7 separate regions of the Homo sapiens genome follow, and all the other regions are linked to region 1. Evidence: promoter capture Hi-C in 16 types of primary human blood cells and fetal thymus (Javierre and others, 2016). All regions are on one chromosome and are shown on one strand. Each heading gives the region's core, a stretch centred on a gene start or on the middle of the fragment in contact. The rest is flanking DNA. Distances are from core to core; before and after follow the strand shown. Region 1 holds the start of BTG1 (BTG anti-proliferation factor 1). Region 2 overlaps LOC105369905 (a long non-coding RNA gene). Region 3 overlaps LOC105369905 (a long non-coding RNA gene). Region 4 has its middle 190 kb from the start of LINC02404. Region 5 overlaps LOC105369905 (a long non-coding RNA gene). Region 6 has its middle 120 kb from the start of LINC02404. Region 7 has its middle 59 kb from the start of LINC02397.

Region 1 (2,518 bases), core at 10-2,509:
TGTGCATGTGCGGGGATGGAAAAAGCGGGCAGGGTTTTAGAAATAACACAGTAGTACCGGACAAAACAATCTCCAGGAACCAACCGGTTGAGCCGCCAAAACAGGAATCAGGCGCGCAGCCTCGGCCAGTCGGGAAGCCACTGGCACCTATGGCCAGGCGAGAAACTGTTTACTTTCTCCACCCCACCCCAGATGCACACAATGGAGTTGATGGCTTTGGAGATGAGAAGCGCCACCGGACTGTTAACCCCGAAGGGAAGAAAAACAAGCAACCCTAAACCACGCTCTGGGCAGGGCTGTTAATTGTGCCGGTGACAAATCCGATGATTAATGGGCAGGGGCAGGAGGCGCGGGGAGACGGCACGTCCGTTCTGAGCTGGCTCCGGGGCAGCGGCGCAGCTTCCCACCCCGGGGCTGGGCCGCCGACCACGCAACGGTTGGAGGGGGCTGAGGAAAGGGGACGTCGAACCCACCCCAGCCCCACGGCTCCTTTGTCCCCAAATCCGCCGACGGTCCTCGGACCGCAGCTCCCGCCTCGGTGGGCTTAAGTTTCTTTGTTGTGCGTGTTGTCTTCTCCTCTCCGTTTTGCCAGCTGGGGGGAAGGGGGCGCCCTCCGTCCAGCCCCTAAAGCCTCGCGGGGAACCGCTGTTAGCGGCCACCCAGCGCAACCACACCGGTCCCGCGGCGGGGCCCAAGCGCGACCGGCCCCGGGGCGCTGCCGAGGTTCCCGCAGCCCCGACGGCCGGACTCTGACCCAGGGATGTGGGGCCCGCGTCCCTCCGACGCCCTCGCCCTGCTCACCTGCCAGCAGCTCCTGCAGGCTCTGGCTGAAGGTCTGCAGCTGTCGCTCGCTCGTGAGCCCCTTGGTGCGGAGAAACTTGGAGATGAAGGACACGGCGGCGGCGATCTCGCCTATCATGGTGGCGGCCCGGGTGTAGAAGGGATGCATGGGGGCGGCGTGCGGGGGCGGCCCGGGGCGGCTGGGGCTCGGCGGCGCGGCCCCGACGGCGGAGCAGCCACCCCGGGCTTCCTCACCGGGCGGAAGGCTGAGAGGAAGAGAGGGCGTGAGGGGCGGACGACTACTTTTGTCTTTCTTTCTTTAGACTAAAAAAGTTATTTTCGAGACAGGAGGCGGCAGGAGAGAGGAAGAGACGAGCGATGGCGGCCTGGTCACATCGCTCGGACCTCCCCAGCTGCCTCCGCCTCCAGCTCCGCAGCATTCGAAGATCTCAATAGCTGCATTTCCAGCTCCGAGAGGCGAAGAGATGCAAGCGCCGTGCAGCACCCTTTATAGTGCCACGAAAAGGAAGTGGCGTAGCTGGAGCGTGATGGCCGACTCCAGCCAATCCGAATATCGCACCATTGTGACGCAAGCCGGTTCGGAGCCGAAAGGGGCGGGAAAAGAGTTCAGGAGGCGGGTCCAGAGATAGGGAAGAGAGGGAGGAGCTGACGTAATCCGCTTGTAAACAAATAAACCCGGAGTGGCGGCTGGAGACCCAGTTGCTTGTGTCGAGGGAGGGAGGGAGGGAACAGAGGGTGCGCGTGTGAAAGCTCCGCCCCCAGCCCTAGCTCCTCCTTCCCGCTTCAGCAGGTCCAGGCTCTGCGCCAGTGCATCCTTCTCCAAGAGTGCGCTGCCTGGGCCCGCTTGCCCTGGAGTGTAAGTGCTGGGTAAATAAGAACCGCCTGGCGCAGGCTGTGTCTACTCTTCACGCCGCCTTCTCAGATCGGGCTGCATGTCCCCACTCCGTGTTTACATCTCGTTCCCGCTCCGGGTCTCGGTGACTGGCTCCTCAAGCCGGAGACGCGTGTGGTGCGGCGCGATGCGGGCGCCAGCGCTGTGTGTGCTGGCGGTGCGCTGCCTTAGTGCGGGGGAAAGTGGAGGGAACGGTCCTGCGGGGCGTTCTGTCCAAGAAAAAGGACTGCAGCCTCGGGGAGCCAGGGTCCCCTCGCAGACGAGCTGCCAACGCCGCGGAGCCATTTCTGTTCCACCCTAGGGGAGGAGTAGGGGGATATCTTTTAAAAGTTTAATTGCAAAATAAGTAGGTTAGTAAGGCCATTTGTGGTTGCTGTTTCAGTAACTTCAGCAGTCAACGGAGAGAAGAGTGGAAACCTTACTGGATGCGGACAGGAGAGCCAGTTACTGAAAGCAGATATAACGCGGATCCTGTAAAGAGTGGTGTGTATCCAAAAAAAAAAAATCTGTACAATGTATTTTAAAACTTGTGTGCACAAAACTGAAGATTTTCTTTTTTACCTAGTCCAAATGCCGTCCTAGCCTGAGTCCTGCTCTTTATAAAAATAAAATAAAAAGAATTTGAAGCTTGTGAAAGTATTAAGTGTAGACATTCAAGTTTATTTGAAACCCTACCAAAAAAAAAAAAAAACAACCTTAAAAACCAGTGTAACAGGAAGGCGGGAGCCTGCTAAAACGATTAGGCCTAAGACAGGGTTAACCCCAACTCCATTAAGGAGAAGGGGGAAAAGAAAAAAAGAAAGATGAAGGGAGGCAGGCAGATGG
Region 2 (2,518 bases), core at 13-2,512, 480 kb after region 1:
GGGAGGTGATAAAGTCATGAGGGTGGAGACCTCATGAATGGGATTAGTGCTTTTATCAGACTGTAAAGAGACCAGAGTTCTCCTCTTCCACCACATGTGGATTCAGCAAGAAGATGCTGTTTATGAATCATGAAATGGGCCCTCACTAGACCTCAAATCTGCCAGCACTTTGATCTTGGACTTCCCAGCCTCCAGAACTGTGAGACATAAACTTTTATGCCATAGCCACCCAGTCTATGGCATTTTGTTGTATTAATAGCAGCCCAGATGAACTGGTACTACCTAGATATTCTGACCTCCTTCCAGAAAGTCACCAGATGACTAGTGCACGGTGCTTGCTCTTATACTGCGTTACCCTGTGCTATTGTGAAACAACTGTCCTTGTCCTTTATAAAATGTAGGTCTGTAAAAGGGATCACAACAGCCACTGCTATTCGCAAATTATCGAGACCACCCAAATTAATAAGTCATATTAATCACAGACTCACCCAATATGATGACAAAGGGAATCTTAAAAACCATCTAGTTAAACTCTCCATATTTGACTGATAAGGAAACCAACGCCAAAGAATAAATAACATGCCCAAGGTCACCTAGGAAATAGGCTGGAGAGCTAGGGCTGAAACACCAGCTGCCATCCTTCTGTACTGCTAATAATTAGGTAACTTAGGTAACTATCAATTAGATCTTTGAGGAACAATATGTGTGGCAGTTTAGAAAAGAGACCCCACAGCCAGAGACCCTCTGATTAGAATCTGCTCCACAACACATACCAGCTGTCACTTAAACTTTCTGGACCTTAGTTTCTTGTCTGTAAAATGGGAATAATAATCATATCAACTCAGAGAGTTAAATGAGATAACATGGCTGAAGCACTTCGAGTCATACCTAACAGAGTAAGTATTCAATGAAAGGAAGATGGCATGCTTATCTTCACTACTCATGCTACAGACACTAGGTAGATACTATTGTAAAAGCTATGTTATGGTCAAAATGCTAGAAATGTTGATTTGCCAGTCCCAGTGCAGGATTGTGCAAGAGAATTTCACAGGCCACAGAGGGCTGCCTACCGTGGCCACCTTTGAGGTTACTACTCCAATCTAGAACACCTAAAGATAGAAATTTGCAAAATCCTGGGAAATGCCTCATGTTCAAAACAGAGTAGTCTACTATGCAAGCCAATATCTCTCTTCTATGGATATTGGTCATTAAAACCTTTCTAACTTAATATCTATGGACTATTAAATCTAAATATTTTTAACAGCATTAAGCACCCTGGATTGCTGTGTATAAATCTACTCCATTTTTACCAGTTAAAACGTTCCGCACTAGACACATTTTTGCTAGTACATTAGAACCACACAGTTAGTACCTTTTTTTTCCCCTGAGAGAAAGAGTCTACATTTCTGACACTGCTAGAGGAAACAAAGCTACTTTGTTATTAAACTACCATTGTTTTTAGTTCCTTTGTCCACAAAACCATAATGAGACACATACAGAGTATCCACATTTAGATCTGGTGTGCTAACAGAATGCTTTCTTTCGGGGAAAAAAAGTATATATAAAGAAAATTACTGTACAAATAAACATGTCCACCTGTTGACAGTGCTGGTAACCACTGGGCAATATACTTTGTCTCTCTGAGACTTTGTCACAGAAACCACTATATCTAAGGTGACTTCTAAAGAAGGTACGCATTTCTCATGACCTTCTCAGATGGACAAATCTGCATTGAATGAGTTAGAAAGACAAGAATAATTTGCTCAGAAATCATAGACGTTATAAGTGAAGTTACTACGCTTTTTAATTCAGAAATTTGGCACAAGAGACCAAATAAGCATTTAGAGAATTTTATAGAAAGAAAAATCTCTAGCAGTGATTAGGTTCAGCTAAGTGGAAGCTCAGTTTCTCAGTATAAAGGTAGCAAAGCTGGGAAACCCCAATATATATTCAACGGCTAAATCATTCCTGACTCTTGACCATGAATCCCACAACTCCCTGTTTTGTTTTTACTTGCATGAATCACTGGTGCAATGCCTCATTAATTTGCAAAAGTAAGGATTTTTTTTAAGTGACATACTCTATACTTTTAAATTCTATATACACATTACATATTAGGTGAAAAGATTAGAGGTTACAAAACCATTCCTGATTTGATTGCTTTAGGTAAAAATAAATTTAAAAAATATAAAAAGTAAAATTCAGGAAGAAAATTATTAATAAACAGAAATAAATTCAATTATTTCTTCCCTCTTTTGTTTGGTAAAATAGTAGATTGGGCCTCCCTTCTCTCTGAGTCCTTAGAATATACACATGCTCATACATCTACAAGAGTTTTTCAAATAGAGTAGTCCCCTGTTACTCACAGGGGATACGTACCAAGACCCCCAGTGGAGTCTAAAACCACAAATAGTAGTGAACCCTATATATACTAGGTTTTTTTTTTCTGTACATACATACCTGTGATGAAGTTAATTTACAAATTAGGTACAGTAAGAGATTAACAATAACAACTAAT
Region 3 (2,518 bases), core at 12-2,511, 460 kb after region 1:
AGCAAGGGCATGGGAGTCCTTGATAAGGCTTTTTTTTTTTTTTGTTAATGAAAAGCAGCCCCAAATCATTTTCTAACAAAGAGCAGCCTGCAAGCTGGGAGCTTGCATGGATGAATGCCGGCAGAAACTAAGGACTAGACATTTTCAAAATGGTGGCTCCATCTTCCCTTCTCTGTCAGCCACGTGTATTATAACAAGCAGACAAGATGGTGCTGATCAACTAGAAAGCCCATTTGCATAAGAAGATTAGGGTGGGGTGACCAGCCTTCCCCACACGCTATGTAAAGGAAATACCTGATCTTACCAATCTGTGAGCCCTACGTAAATCAGACACCACGTCCTCAAACTGGACTATAAAACTTGGTGCTTTTGCCACCAGCTGGTCCTCTCTGCTCAGAGACCACTTCCTCTGTAGAGGAAGCTGTTTCTCTTTCTCTTCTCTTCTACCTATTAAACCTTCACTCCTAAACTCCTCGTGTGTGTCCATGTCCTAAATTTTCCTGGCACGTGATGATGAACCCCAGGTTTATACCCCAGACAGCATAGCCGCTTCACCACCAGTTCCCTCTCTTGACACATGGGGATTGCAATTTGAGATAAAATTTGAGTAGGGACACAGAGCCAAACATATCTCCCTCCTTCCCTGACCATTTATGTAGGGCTTCCTCTTTATTATCCATCATCATTTGGTCTCTAGTTGACACCATTTTTTCCAATCTACAAGTACATACTTATGTATGTGTTTACCTACTGATAGTCTGTTTTCCTTACTAGACTGGAAGCTCCCTGAGGGCAGAATCTTCATGGATATCTCTGATTTCTCTGGTCAGAGGACCACTGCTTTTGTCACATTATGTCCCCATGTGTGTACTGCAGATGGAAGGTTAGAGAAACCAGGGCCCACCATGCCAACACTCCAAGATGTTAATCAACTGTTTCAAAGCTGCCCTGGGTCATTTGCAAAATCTAAAAACTGACTCTTTGACTCAGGTTTGCCCAATATATAAAGCCACATTGTCTATTGTTCTATAGTTACAAGTCTTAGCCAGTTTAAGGTTAGGCAATTTATAAAGAAGAAATGGGAATTACTTCATGTGAGAAAACAATTTATTGCCTTACATAGGATTTTTTCAGCCTGAGTCACTGGAATGTTTTCATGTACATTTGCATCATCGTCATTCTCCTTACAGACCCAATCATATAACAACTAAAATGTATAAAGAGCCTATTATGTGGTAAACACTGGGGCTCTCTCAGGGAATAAGACCAACTAGACCTCATCTTCACTGAATTTATCGTCCAGCAAGTAATAAACATAAAGAGTGGTGAGTGAGAAGAACACAGTGTGACAGGAGCACATTGCAGGACAATTGAACATATTTTAGGAGTTGGGGAAGATTGGCACCAGAGGATGGGTAAGACACAAATAAAGAGGGTAGAAAAGTGATTCAGACAACAGGAGGCTGGTGAAGGGCCAAGGAATAAGAAAGGACTTATAAATTCTAGCATCTAAAAAAGTCCAAGAAGCTGGAATGTAAAATATGGAGAAGGAAAAGATAAGGAGTCAGGTTGTAGGAATAGCCAAGGGCTAGATCTTGTGTAGCATAGCCAGGAATTTGGACTTTGCCCTTTTAAGCTGGGGCATAACATGTCCCACCTTCTGTTCCCTAACCTTTTACCTATAATTTCCTATATTTACCTATAAATTGCTTAAAATATTTTACCTATAAATTGCTTAAAATACTTGCTAAATATATGTTACATATTATTAGATGTCTATCAAAGAATGCAAAGCAATGGAAAAAAACTGAGACAGTATTGACATCAGGGGAAAAAAATTGTAGATGATGATGTCATGAGTATGCTAGATGGCTCGGCTATGAGCCATGGTAAACACTAAAAAGGATTTAATTAAATATGCTATATTTGAAAGATTTGTAGACAGTCAATAGATAGTATCTAAAATTAAAAACTCAAATATTTGTAGAAACACATTACTGAGAAATAAAAAATACATATTCGAACAAAAATTGAAAGATGTGCAGTTACTTCTGAGTCAATGAGCAAAGGGAGATGGAATGGAGTAAGCTGAGGCTGGGGATTGTTTTTGATTATAATTTTTGTATATGTATTATTTTGTTATTTTTACTATTGAATATGTGGGGTTTTGACAGAAGCATAAATTGAATGTGTGTGCATGCATGGACTCACACACCCACACACCCTGCAAATCTAAACTTAGAAAGGAACAGTGGGAGGCAGCCATGGCACCCCCTACTGGCCTTCTCATGGATGGTCTATTGATGGGTCTCACTACCCTGTCCAGACCTGCCCCCATTGCTGAACCAGTCATGTCTCCACAGGAAAACAGCAGCCTCTGACCTTCCATTTCTTAGAGGTTTCATGAACTGGACTGCCAAGCAACATTTGGATTTTCAGTACTAGGGACAACTCATAGGTACCTGCTTAGATTCTGAGTTGGCTCCATCTAATGAGATCCTGAGGACACATCAGGGCC
Region 4 (2,518 bases), core at 9-2,508, 460 kb before region 1:
GAAATGTAAATCAAAACCGCAATGAGATACATCTCACAGCAGTCAGAATGGCCATTATTAAAAGTCAAAAAACAATAGATGCTGGTGAGGTTGTGGATAAAAGGGAATGCTTATACCCTGTTGTGGGAGTGCAAATTAGTTCAGTCACTGTGAAAAGCAGTCTGGAGATTTCTGAAAGAACTTTTGACAGAGCTACCATTTGACCCAGCAATTCCATTACTGGGTATATCCCCAAAAGAAAACAAATTATTCTACCAAAAAGGCGCATGCACTTGTATGTTCATTGCTGCATTATTTAAAATAGCAAAGATATGGAGATTGGATAAAGAAAATGTGTGAGATATATATAATATATATCATGTGCTATGTAATATATATAATATATTATATATAATGCATATAATGATATATAATGTGATATATAATATATATAATGTGATATATAATATATATAATGTATATAATGATATATATGATAGATCTCTCATGTCTTTATCCAATCTGTCATTGATGGGCTCTTGGGTTGATTCCATATCTTTGCTACCATATATATATATATATATATATATATATATATATATATATATACACACACACACACACACACACACACACACACACACACATACATATATACACCATGATATATCACCACCGTTTTTTTATATATGTATATACATACACACAAAATTCTCAGGACGCAGCATTTTTTAGCAATAAAATATTTTTAAGGTATGACCACTTTTTAAGACATAATATACATAACTTTTATATGCACTGGGGAAACAAAACATTTGTGTGGCTCACTTTATTGAGACGTTTGCTTTATTGTGGTGCTCTGGAATCCAACTTCCAATATCTCTGAGGTATTGCCTGTATGGTCTCAATTAATCCTTACAACTCTTCCTTGAGGTAGGTACCTACTCTTAACGTCCCACTTTTACAGATGAACAAAGTAAAACTTGGAAAGATAAAGTAATAGTTAATATTGTAAGAATAATTTTGTTCAGGCAGCATAGGATTGACCTGCATGTTCCCTGAGGGTACTGTCTTTTAGGTAAGACTATTGAGCTTCCTGTGAGGTTCACTTCAATTTAGCCATAGATAATGCATATTTATTGGGTGCATGGTAATCTAAATAATCCTTTACATATGTAGAAAAGTTACTAATCACAAATGACTTTCCAGCACTAAAAAACAGATAGGTAGGTGAAATTCTTCCCAACCTATAGGGTCCCATTTAAAGAGGTTAAGTGAGTTATCAGAGAGCTATCAGTGCTGCAGGTATAATTTGAATCTAAGTCTTTTATATTTTTCTACTAAACCTTATTTCTCTCTCTCTTCTCTCTCTCTCTCTGTGTGTGTGTGTGTGCGTGTGTATATGTGTTTCCTTTTATGTATTCATCATCACTTTACATGAGTCAGAGGGCATGGGACATTGTTGTTTGGTCTCCTTAGCAATCTTTTCAAATGCTTTCAAGGTAGATCCTGTCTCTGACATGAAAACTAAATCTACAAACGCTCCACATGGTGATTTCTATTGCTAATGTGCCTTTTAGACTAACTAAATGCCCAACCAAAGCAAATATGTGAGTCCATTTCATCTCATCTCAGCAGTATCTTTAACTTTACAATATTAATCTATGTATAACTCCTCTATATAATTATATTAATGTTTTAATTAAATAAGAAATTATCAAAAGGCTTTACTGGAACTCTGATGAAATATATAAAGAGCTATTGATCCAAATCCAATTTAATATAGAAGAAAGAAGAAAGAAGCAACATAGGATAACTAATGGATAGTTGCAATTTGAATAAATTGAATTGTTTTAAAGATGGGGAAGCATTATTGAGAATTAATGGCAAAATCAAATTATAGAAAAATTTAAAATATGTATGTTAGATCACTTAAATCCATCCATAATGAGCAGATTTTAATTAAGCACTTACTATGCATACACCAAGTAATAAGTTAAGCACTTTCTATCTCCAAGCCTGGCTACAGAATTGCAGGGAAAATGGGAACAGAGGGAGTATACTAGACAACACAGAAGGCAGAGGAGAGGAGCCAGTGTTACGGAGCCATGTGCTGTTTGACTCAAAACATATGCCTCCCCTCACCTCTAACCAGGCAAGCATAGGAGACAGAGTCCCTGGAGTAAACTGAAATGCAACAATCTGAGAGGTAAGAAAAAAAGTTAAAACAAGAGAAAACAGTATTTTGGATTATAGTAGTCTCCAATTATCCACAGGGTAATGTTCCAAGACCCCCAGTGGATACCAAACCCAATATATTCTATGTACTATTTTTTTTCTATACATACATACCTAGGATAAATTTTAACTTATGAGTTAGGCACAATAAGATATTAACAGTAACTAATAACATAGAACAATTATAACAATATAATGTAATAAAGGTTATATGAATGTGGTTTGTCTGTCTCTCTCTCTCAAATACCTTATTCTACTGTACTTACCCTTCTTCTTGTTGTGATTTGTCAATCTGATAATG
Region 5 (2,518 bases), core at 13-2,512, 440 kb after region 1:
TTTTTTTTTTTTTTTGAGATGGAGTCTCGCTCTGTTGCCCAGGCTGGAGTACAGTGGCGTGATCTTAGCTCACTACAACATTCACCTTCCGGGTTCAAGTGATTCTCCCGCCTCAGCCTCCTGAGTAGCTGGGACTACAGGCGCGTGCCACCACATCTGGCTAATTTTTTGTATTTTTAGTAGAGACGGGGTTTCACCGTGTTAGCCAGGATGGTCTCGATCTCCTGACCTCGTGATCCGTCCGCCTCGGCCTCCCAAAGTGCTGGGATTACAGGCATGAGCCACTGCACCTGGCCAACTCCTATGATTCTGTTCACTTGTTCATTCTGTTTATTTGTCCCTCTTCCTACAATGACTTTCCCTGCATACACACACATACATACAAACACACACACACACATATATAAATGAAACCATTCAGCAAATATTTATTGAGGTCTGCTACAAGGTAGCGCTGTGTTTATAGACACTGAGGGTACAGTTGTAAGGGAAAAAAGGTACTAACATTTCCCTAAAGAATCTTACAATTTAATAAGAGAAATCATTTAATTTCTATTTAATTTCTATTAATTGTGTAATTTCCATTATTCTTTATCAATCGCTTAATTTAACGATTATAGGAATAAATCCATAAGTAAAATTGTAATCCATCCTCTATAAGCCAAGCAGGCAGTGTTTGGACTATACGATCAGTTGTCTTAACCTTGTCAGGTGGAAGGGGAAAGCCTTCTAGCCCTGGTGGCAGGTCCCAGGGATGTTCATTTTAACTGGTCCATGTATAAACCCAAAATGCAAAAGCAGGTCATATAGGTCTAGGTGATGTTTCCAGCCAGGAGTCATGGAGGGAATGGGACTTTAAGGGATTGTTTATTCTTCTGGAAAATCTCCAAGAATAGCTAAAGGACACAAGGCAAAGTTACAGTATGCCAAAAACTGCCTATCCAAGTGGCAGCATCACATTCCCTAGCCTGCTGCCTTTCCAGGCCACTGCCCAATGGTGGCCACTACACACCTACAGGAGATGGTGTGTAGGAACCTCCATGACTCCTTTCATGCAGGACAGCAGAGGTTGGGTGGCCAAGAGCATTAAGACGCCTGGACTCTACAAGATGAGGACCACGGAAGAATAGATGGGTCAGACAAGAGTATGACCCACAGAGGAAAATTTGAAAACCATCACTCAAATATAATGTTCTCTCTTGCTGTGAGTCTCCATTTTCTATTTTTTTCCTTATATTTTTGGCACATTATTTTAGGTGCGGTGGGTCTATTTTGGTTTCCCCAAAGCAATACTTTAGCAATAGAACATCTGTCACCTTGAGAGCCTGAGAGGAATCTCAATATTCTTCATCATTTTGTAACCAAATCCTAATGTATCAGACATTGACCCTGTTAGTAAGTATCTAAAATGTGCAGGGTACACGAAATTAAAAAGATTATAACCCCCAGTACCACACACGCACACAGATCTTGTTCTTCCTGTGCCATGTGACAGATCTTATCACAGATATGTCCCAAAAGGATACACACATCAATTATCTCATTTGATTTCTCTTTACTGTTTTTTTCTTTGTGTCATTTTAATCAATTTTTTGTAATTACGGACAATGTTCTTATCTAACAAGCAGTATTTAAAATATTTGTTTTTGGGAAACAACATTGATATTGAATTTTCTACTCTCAAGAACTTTAAAAATCAAGTGAGTGACAGACAGTATGTAAGTAACACAGAGGGCTCAGCCATTGCACAACTATGAGACCCGGCCACACATTTAACCTCTCTGAGCCTCAATTTCCTCATTTATAAATAGGAGCAATAATGCATGGCTCACAGGACTGTGTAAGAACTAAATTAGATCATGTATGTAAAGCAAATCGTACAATGTAGGTGGCTACAGCATGTTAGTCCCTCCCCCTTTTCCCTCAGCTTACTGAGGTCTCTGGAGGATACAGCAAATAAACACAAATGGCATGGTGAATTCTGTGGGCTAAAAATGTGATCTTTTCAAGGCATAGGGTGTTTTAGTTTCTGAAACAACTGTTGTACATCTAAGAATAGCTCTGTTTATGACTGTGTGATTTTATCCATCTGGGTTCACACAACCTCAATGTATCAGTTAGTCTTTCACATTAGGTTTAAATTTTATTTTCCCAAAGAAAGTCTTCTCCAGGCACTTCAGTTCACAGTGATCTCTCCCTTTCTTAAATCCTCCTCCAACCTCCAAATGCATTAAGCAAAACCTCACCCTTGAGAGAGAGAGAGATTTTCCTTAATCAATTTGTCCACCTCTAAAGCAAGGATTGTAACCAATGCCCCTTTGTGTTTTTGGAACTCAACACAGTACCTTGCATTCAAGCAGGTCCTAAAGATATGCTTGTTGGTGGATTGGTTGGTTGATAGATGGACAAGGACTTAACTCCTTTGTTATAACTGTGTAACAGTCTTGCATTATCTGGAGTTCATACAGGGGAGGAGGACTTTCTCAAGGAATTCAACTGCTAATTCCCCAACAGCCCC
Region 6 (2,518 bases), core at 9-2,508, 390 kb before region 1:
ATTAGGGTAATGGCAGTTGAAGTTTAATATGTGCCAAGGAGTAAGGACGCTGGCATAAAACTCTGGGTTTCCGTTGGGGTCTCTGAAGGACTATGCCCATGAATAATGGTGAACCTGGACAGACCAAGTCTTCACAAATACTGAAAACTAATTTGAATCAGCTTAATCTCGAATGGAATAATCTGATCTTTCTCAAGCTAAATTACCAGATGAAGAAAACAAATTATTTTTACAGAACGATAGCATCATTCAAGACTTCAATCTGCCACTATAATTTTTCAAACATTATTTCTGGCTGCACACACACGGGCACCCACACACTTAGTTTCTGTGTGTGTGTTTATGTGGCAAACCGAGAGAAAACCAGCAGTAAAAACACACCCATAAGATATCCACAACTGTAGTTATCAAACATGGAATTACATAATTATGGTTAATATGTGTTCAAGAAATACAAGACAAGGTAAAAAAATTCATCAGAGAAATGTAAGCCATTTTTAAAAAGCAAATAGAAATTTTGTAACTGATTAACACAGTAACCAAATTACAACTTTAATGTGTGTGTTAAAAGTACACAAACCAAAGCAAAAAGATTAGATTAAAAATGAAGAAAAGAGAAAAAAATATATAGAATATATTATTTTCTTAGTCTGTTTAAGCTGCTATAACAAAATACCAGAGACTAGGTAATTTGTAACTACCCGGAAATTTATTTCTCACAGTTCTGGAGACTAGTAAGTCCAAGATCAAGGTGCCAACATCTGGTGTCTGGTGAGGGTCCAATCTGCTTCCAAGATGGCATCTTGAACACTGTGTCCTCCAGAAGGGAGAACACTGTGTCCTTGCAAGGCAGAAGGTTAAGGGCCAAAAGGAACAAACTCCCTCCATCAAGCTCCTTTATAAGGGCACCTAATCCCATTCATGGGCAGAGCCTTAAAACTCAATCACCTCCAAGGATTATACCTCTCAATACTATTAAATTGGAAACTAAGCTTCATAAATTTTTGGAGGGTACAATAACATTCAAATTGTAGCAACAGTCAAATGATCTAACACACATATTAAACTCCCAAAAAAGAGTAAAGAGAGATATTGGAACAAAGGAAGTTTAGAAAAATGTAGTGGTCAAGATTTTTCCCCAATCAACAAAAGATATCAAGTCACAATTTCAAGAAGGGATATAAATCTCAAGTGAAATAATCATAAGGAATGACACATTTAGACACACTATAGTCATACTGCTAAAAACCAAAGACAAAGAGAACATCTTAAAAGCAGGCAGAGAGTGCCAGGAATGTAACTCTTCCATAGGATCAATAAAATAAAAACCAGAAGTCAATGGAATGAGATCTTCAAAGTACTGGGGGAAAACACCAATCTGGAATTCTGTATCTGGTAAATATTCATATTTTATAAGTAAAGGTAAAATAGAACACTTTCATAGAAATAAAAGCTAAAATAATTAATCATTAGTTCCACACTAGAGGAAATACCAAAAGACAAAAGAAAAACAATCCCCAGTTAGAAGCTTATATATACAGAAAAAAAGGAGAGCAATGATTTTGGTACCAGGAAGTACAACTGTAATGAAACAAGTATCTAACAATCTGGAAGTGGCTTTGGAATTGAGCAATGGGTAGAGGCTGGAAGAATTTTGAGGGGTATGGTAGAAAAAGCCTAGATTTTGGAGAAGGCTCAAAGGAAATGAAGAATATAGTAGAGAAAACTGTTATTATCTTAGAGAATACATATATTCCCATGAGCACAGTGTTCATGGTATAGACATGAATATTAAAGACAGGTGCTCAGAAACAAATTATGAACATGTTGAAAACTGGAGGAAAGGTAATCTTTATTATATAGTGGCATATCTTGTCTAAGTTGTGTCTTAATGTTGCTTGGAAAGCAGAAGTTGTAAGCCATTGTTTACAACTTACATGCTTATATATTTAGCTGAAAATACTTTCAAACAAAACTTTGAAGGTGTGACCTGATTTCTTGTTGCCATTTAGAATAAAATGTGAGAAGAAAAAGATAAATTGAAGAAGAGACCATTAAGCACAAAGAAACCAGCACTTGATGATTCAAAAAAATCACATCTATTCAGATTCCAAAACGTGCTAATGTTATTCACTGTTAGAGAAACTGTGCTCTGAAGACAAGGAAAAGACGAGGCTGAAAGATTTTTGCTGAAGAAATTAAGTGTGTGACTCTTGGGGTCCCCTCAACCATCTCAGCAGAAGCCAGAAACAGAAATGGAGTTATCTAGGAAAGACCTGTAGAGGATCCTCTTGTCTAATGGTGTGAAACCTTATGGTATATGTGGGAGACCGACAATGTTGTTGAGAAAATTATATAAGCAGAAACACTGCCAACTTAAACTAAAAGGGATTTCACAAAGTGAAAGAAGACTATCAGACTTCCAAAATTTTACAGTCAGGAAATGGACTGATAGAGCTACTCAACTGCAAACATGTGCTACACTTTAATGGTAAGAAGAACTCAGAGGTCAGAGGGG
Region 7 (2,518 bases), core at 6-2,505, 380 kb after region 1:
ACACTATGGTCAAACTGCTGAAAACCCAGTATAAAGATAAAATCTTAGGTTCAACGAGAGAACAGGTGATGTTACATAGAGGGAACAACCATGGGGAGGTTCACTGACTTTTCATCAAAAGCAAAGTAAGCCAGACTGCAATGGAGCAACAGCTTTGACGTGCTGAAGAAGGGAAATTGTCAATCTGGAGTTTTATAACCAGAAAAGCTGCCCTTTATTTGTGGGGATGAGACAGAGATGTTCTCTGATTATCAAGGCTGAGATAGTTTATTGCCAGAAGACCCATACTACAGAGGATGTTAAACGGGGACTTTAGATTGTGCAAAGATGGTGGAAGATAAAGGATCAGATCTAGAAGAAACACTGATGACACCGGAGATCGTAAATGTGAATGTTTTCTTTTTCTTTTTTCTCAACTTATTTGGTGCAAGTGAACTGCTAAAAGCAAAAGTGATGACAAAATTTGGTAGAAACAGGAAAATGTATGCAGAAGTAAAATGTATGCAGATCATGGCACCCAAGGCCAGAGAAGATGGTTGGAGGCATATTGTAGGATTGTTGCCTTTTTTGTGAGGTAGTGTTATGTTACTTCAGACTAGACAGTGGAGGGGTGGAATGTATATTATGATCCTACAGCAACCACTAGGGAAATAAAACAAAGGGTTAGGACAAAAAACACGAAAATAATAAACTGTAATAACTATAAGCTTTTTTTTTACCATGATCCTCAAGAAATATTTTATTTATTTAGTTAGTTATTGTTTGATTGATTGATTGGAGACAGAGTCTTGCTCTGTCACCCAGGCTGGACTTAGGTGATGTGATCATAGATCACTGTAGCCTTGGACTCCAGGGCTCAAGAAATCCTCCCGCCACAACCTCTCCTAGTAGCTGGCACTGGAGGCATAAGCCATCGTGCTTGCTCAGCTGATTTTTAATTGTTCTGTAGGGACAGGGTCTCATTACACTGCCCAGGCTGGTCTTGAACTCCTGGCCTCAAGCAACTCTCCCGCCTTGGCCTCCCAAAATGTTGGCATTATACACATGACCCATTATGCCCAGCCAGAAATATTTTATATTGCTTCCAAGTACACAAGTGTTACACAACTCTCTCATACAAACAAACATATCATACAGAAAACATTATCCCAAGCAATATTTATGATTACTAAGTGCAATGAATATTTTCTATTCTATTTCAGTTTTTAACATCAATTATGACCTATTGGATCAATTTTTACTACCAAACTCCTGCACTGGATCACAACTTGCAATTGGAAAAACACTTTTGTGTAGCCTCTGCTATGTCAGGTCATTTACTTCTTAATTTCTTTAAATTTTTATCTTGTCACTTGATTTTCACCAAGAAAAATCTCATGCATAAGATAAGCTATCCCCATTTTAGAAATGAGTAAACAGACTTGGAGAATTTAACTAACATTCTTAAGACCACAGGCTAGTAAGTAGAAAAGGGAGGATTTCAGTGTAGATATAAATATAAGAAATCCAACTGCAGAGCTCTTAAGAACTCTACCACACTGACTCCACCTTGATCACTAAATTTGGGCATCTGGGTATCGTGAATGGTTGCACGTACTCATACACATTTTTCTTGGGATAAAAGACTAGTTTTCATCTGTAACCTGAAAAAAGCAACTGAAGAACAACAATACTACACTGTTCTGCCCTAGTTTACTGCCCTAGTTTGTTTTTTCATGCCATACAACCAAGATCTGTTCGCATTATTTGAGCAGACACTTTTAAAAGCTCCAGTCACTTAACTATGATAGAACTCTAACCTGCAAAGCTTCACATCTTATACTTTCCTTTGTATATGCTATTGGTGAGTGGGTGGCAATGGAAATCTACAAACATATAAAAGAGAAACTTTAATCTACTGAGGCTATTTTTCAGCTCTAAGATTCTGTAAACCTATAATTGTAATCAAGGGCCCAGCCACCTGCTATTCTATAATGAAGCCACAAGATAGGCAGTTGTCTAAATTGCTCAGAAAGATATACAAAGACAGGGATTCCTTTGTTTCTTTGTTAGTCTTCCCTGGAGTTTTGCAAGACCTAAAGTTAATTAGAGTCTCTTAGTGCAATTTAACCATATCCCTCTTAGTTTATTGTCTATCATAGAGATAGAATAATTTAGCTTTCCTTAGGATAATCTTTTTTCACATACATATATACTTAAAGGTAACTATTTATTTATTCATGATTTAGCTTTTTCCTCTCTAGACTAAATAAATATAATCTCCTTAATTTTCCCCCACTGGTTTGATTTTCTTCATAATTATTTTTGTAGTGCTCCCTAGGAAACCCACTTTAATTTCTGCATGTGCATTTTAAAGGGTGGATTCCCATATTGATCACATTACTCTACTAAGGGCCTGACCAGTACCAAGTATGCCTGGATGATCTGCAGCTCTTTGCTGGCTGCGCTTTCTAACAGAAAGCTGAGTTCAGGTTGAGCATCCCTAATCTGAAAATTCGAAATCTGAAATGCTCCAAAA

The links. Contacts are between HindIII fragments. The CHiCAGO score rates a contact against its expected background, and 5 or more counts as called.
Region 2: a contact is called between a fragment that was not itself captured here and the fragment with the promoter of BTG1 in region 1, in 1 of 17 cell types (activated CD4 T cells). The highest score is 5.1, in activated CD4 T cells.
Region 3: a contact is called between a fragment that was not itself captured here and the fragment with the promoter of BTG1 in region 1, in 2 of 17 cell types (M0 macrophages and activated CD4 T cells). The highest score is 6.8, in M0 macrophages.
Region 4: a contact is called between a fragment that was not itself captured here and the fragment with the promoter of BTG1 in region 1, in 1 of 17 cell types (naive CD8 T cells). The highest score is 5.2, in naive CD8 T cells.
Region 5: a contact is called between a fragment that was not itself captured here and the fragment with the promoter of BTG1 in region 1, in 11 of 17 cell types (total B cells, naive B cells, non-activated CD4 T cells and 8 more). The highest score is 18.1, in total B cells.
Region 6: a contact is called between a fragment that was not itself captured here and the fragment with the promoter of BTG1 in region 1, in 1 of 17 cell types (activated CD4 T cells). The highest score is 5.5, in activated CD4 T cells.
Region 7: a fragment that was not itself captured here is called in contact with the fragment with the promoter of BTG1 in region 1 in 1 of 17 cell types (M2 macrophages); the score reaches 5.1 in M2 macrophages.

The regions. Positions count from the first base shown.
Region 1 is chr12:92,144,587-92,147,104 of GRCh38, forward strand. It overlaps BTG1 (BTG anti-proliferation factor 1), which reads right to left and starts at 1,260. Exons shown (of 2, transcript NM_001731.3): 1 at 802-1,260. The coding sequence starts at 949. BTG1-DT (BTG1 divergent transcript) reads left to right here and starts at 1,499. Exons shown (of 3, transcript NR_135036.1): 1 at 1,499-1,657; 2 at 2,076-2,176. RefSeq lists enhancers at 232-281, 241-777, 1,612-1,911 and a silencer at 702-1,021. The HindIII fragment of the contact is 11,880 bases long and covers 1-2,318 here.
Region 2 is chr12:92,626,686-92,629,203 of GRCh38, forward strand. The region is part of intron 1 of LOC105369905 (a long non-coding RNA gene); the gene reads left to right. The region is part of intron 1 of LOC124902983 (a long non-coding RNA gene); the gene reads right to left. Among named protein-coding and RNA genes, the nearest start is that of PLEKHG7, 75 kb to the right of the region's middle. The HindIII fragment of the contact is 2,759 bases long and covers 1-2,518 here.
Region 3 is chr12:92,601,559-92,604,076 of GRCh38, forward strand. All of the region lies in intron 1 of LOC105369905 (a long non-coding RNA gene), which reads left to right. The region is part of intron 1 of LOC124902983 (a long non-coding RNA gene); the gene reads right to left. Among named protein-coding and RNA genes, the nearest start is that of PLEKHG7, 100 kb to the right of the region's middle. The HindIII fragment of the contact is 4,997 bases long and covers 1-2,518 here.
Region 4 is chr12:91,684,699-91,687,216 of GRCh38, forward strand. No RefSeq gene overlaps it. Among named protein-coding and RNA genes, the nearest start is that of LINC02404, 190 kb to the right of the region's middle. The HindIII fragment of the contact is 4,269 bases long and covers 1-2,518 here.
Region 5 is chr12:92,579,827-92,582,344 of GRCh38, forward strand. All of the region lies in intron 1 of LOC105369905 (a long non-coding RNA gene), which reads left to right. Among named protein-coding and RNA genes, the nearest start is that of LINC02397, 110 kb to the left of the region's middle. The HindIII fragment of the contact is 3,147 bases long and covers 1-2,518 here.
Region 6 is chr12:91,758,346-91,760,863 of GRCh38, forward strand. No RefSeq gene overlaps it. Among named protein-coding and RNA genes, the nearest start is that of LINC02404, 120 kb to the right of the region's middle. The HindIII fragment of the contact is 536 bases long and covers 991-1,526 here.
Region 7 is chr12:92,524,368-92,526,885 of GRCh38, forward strand. No RefSeq gene overlaps it. Among named protein-coding and RNA genes, the nearest start is that of LINC02397, 59 kb to the left of the region's middle. The HindIII fragment of the contact is 1,100 bases long and covers 706-1,805 here.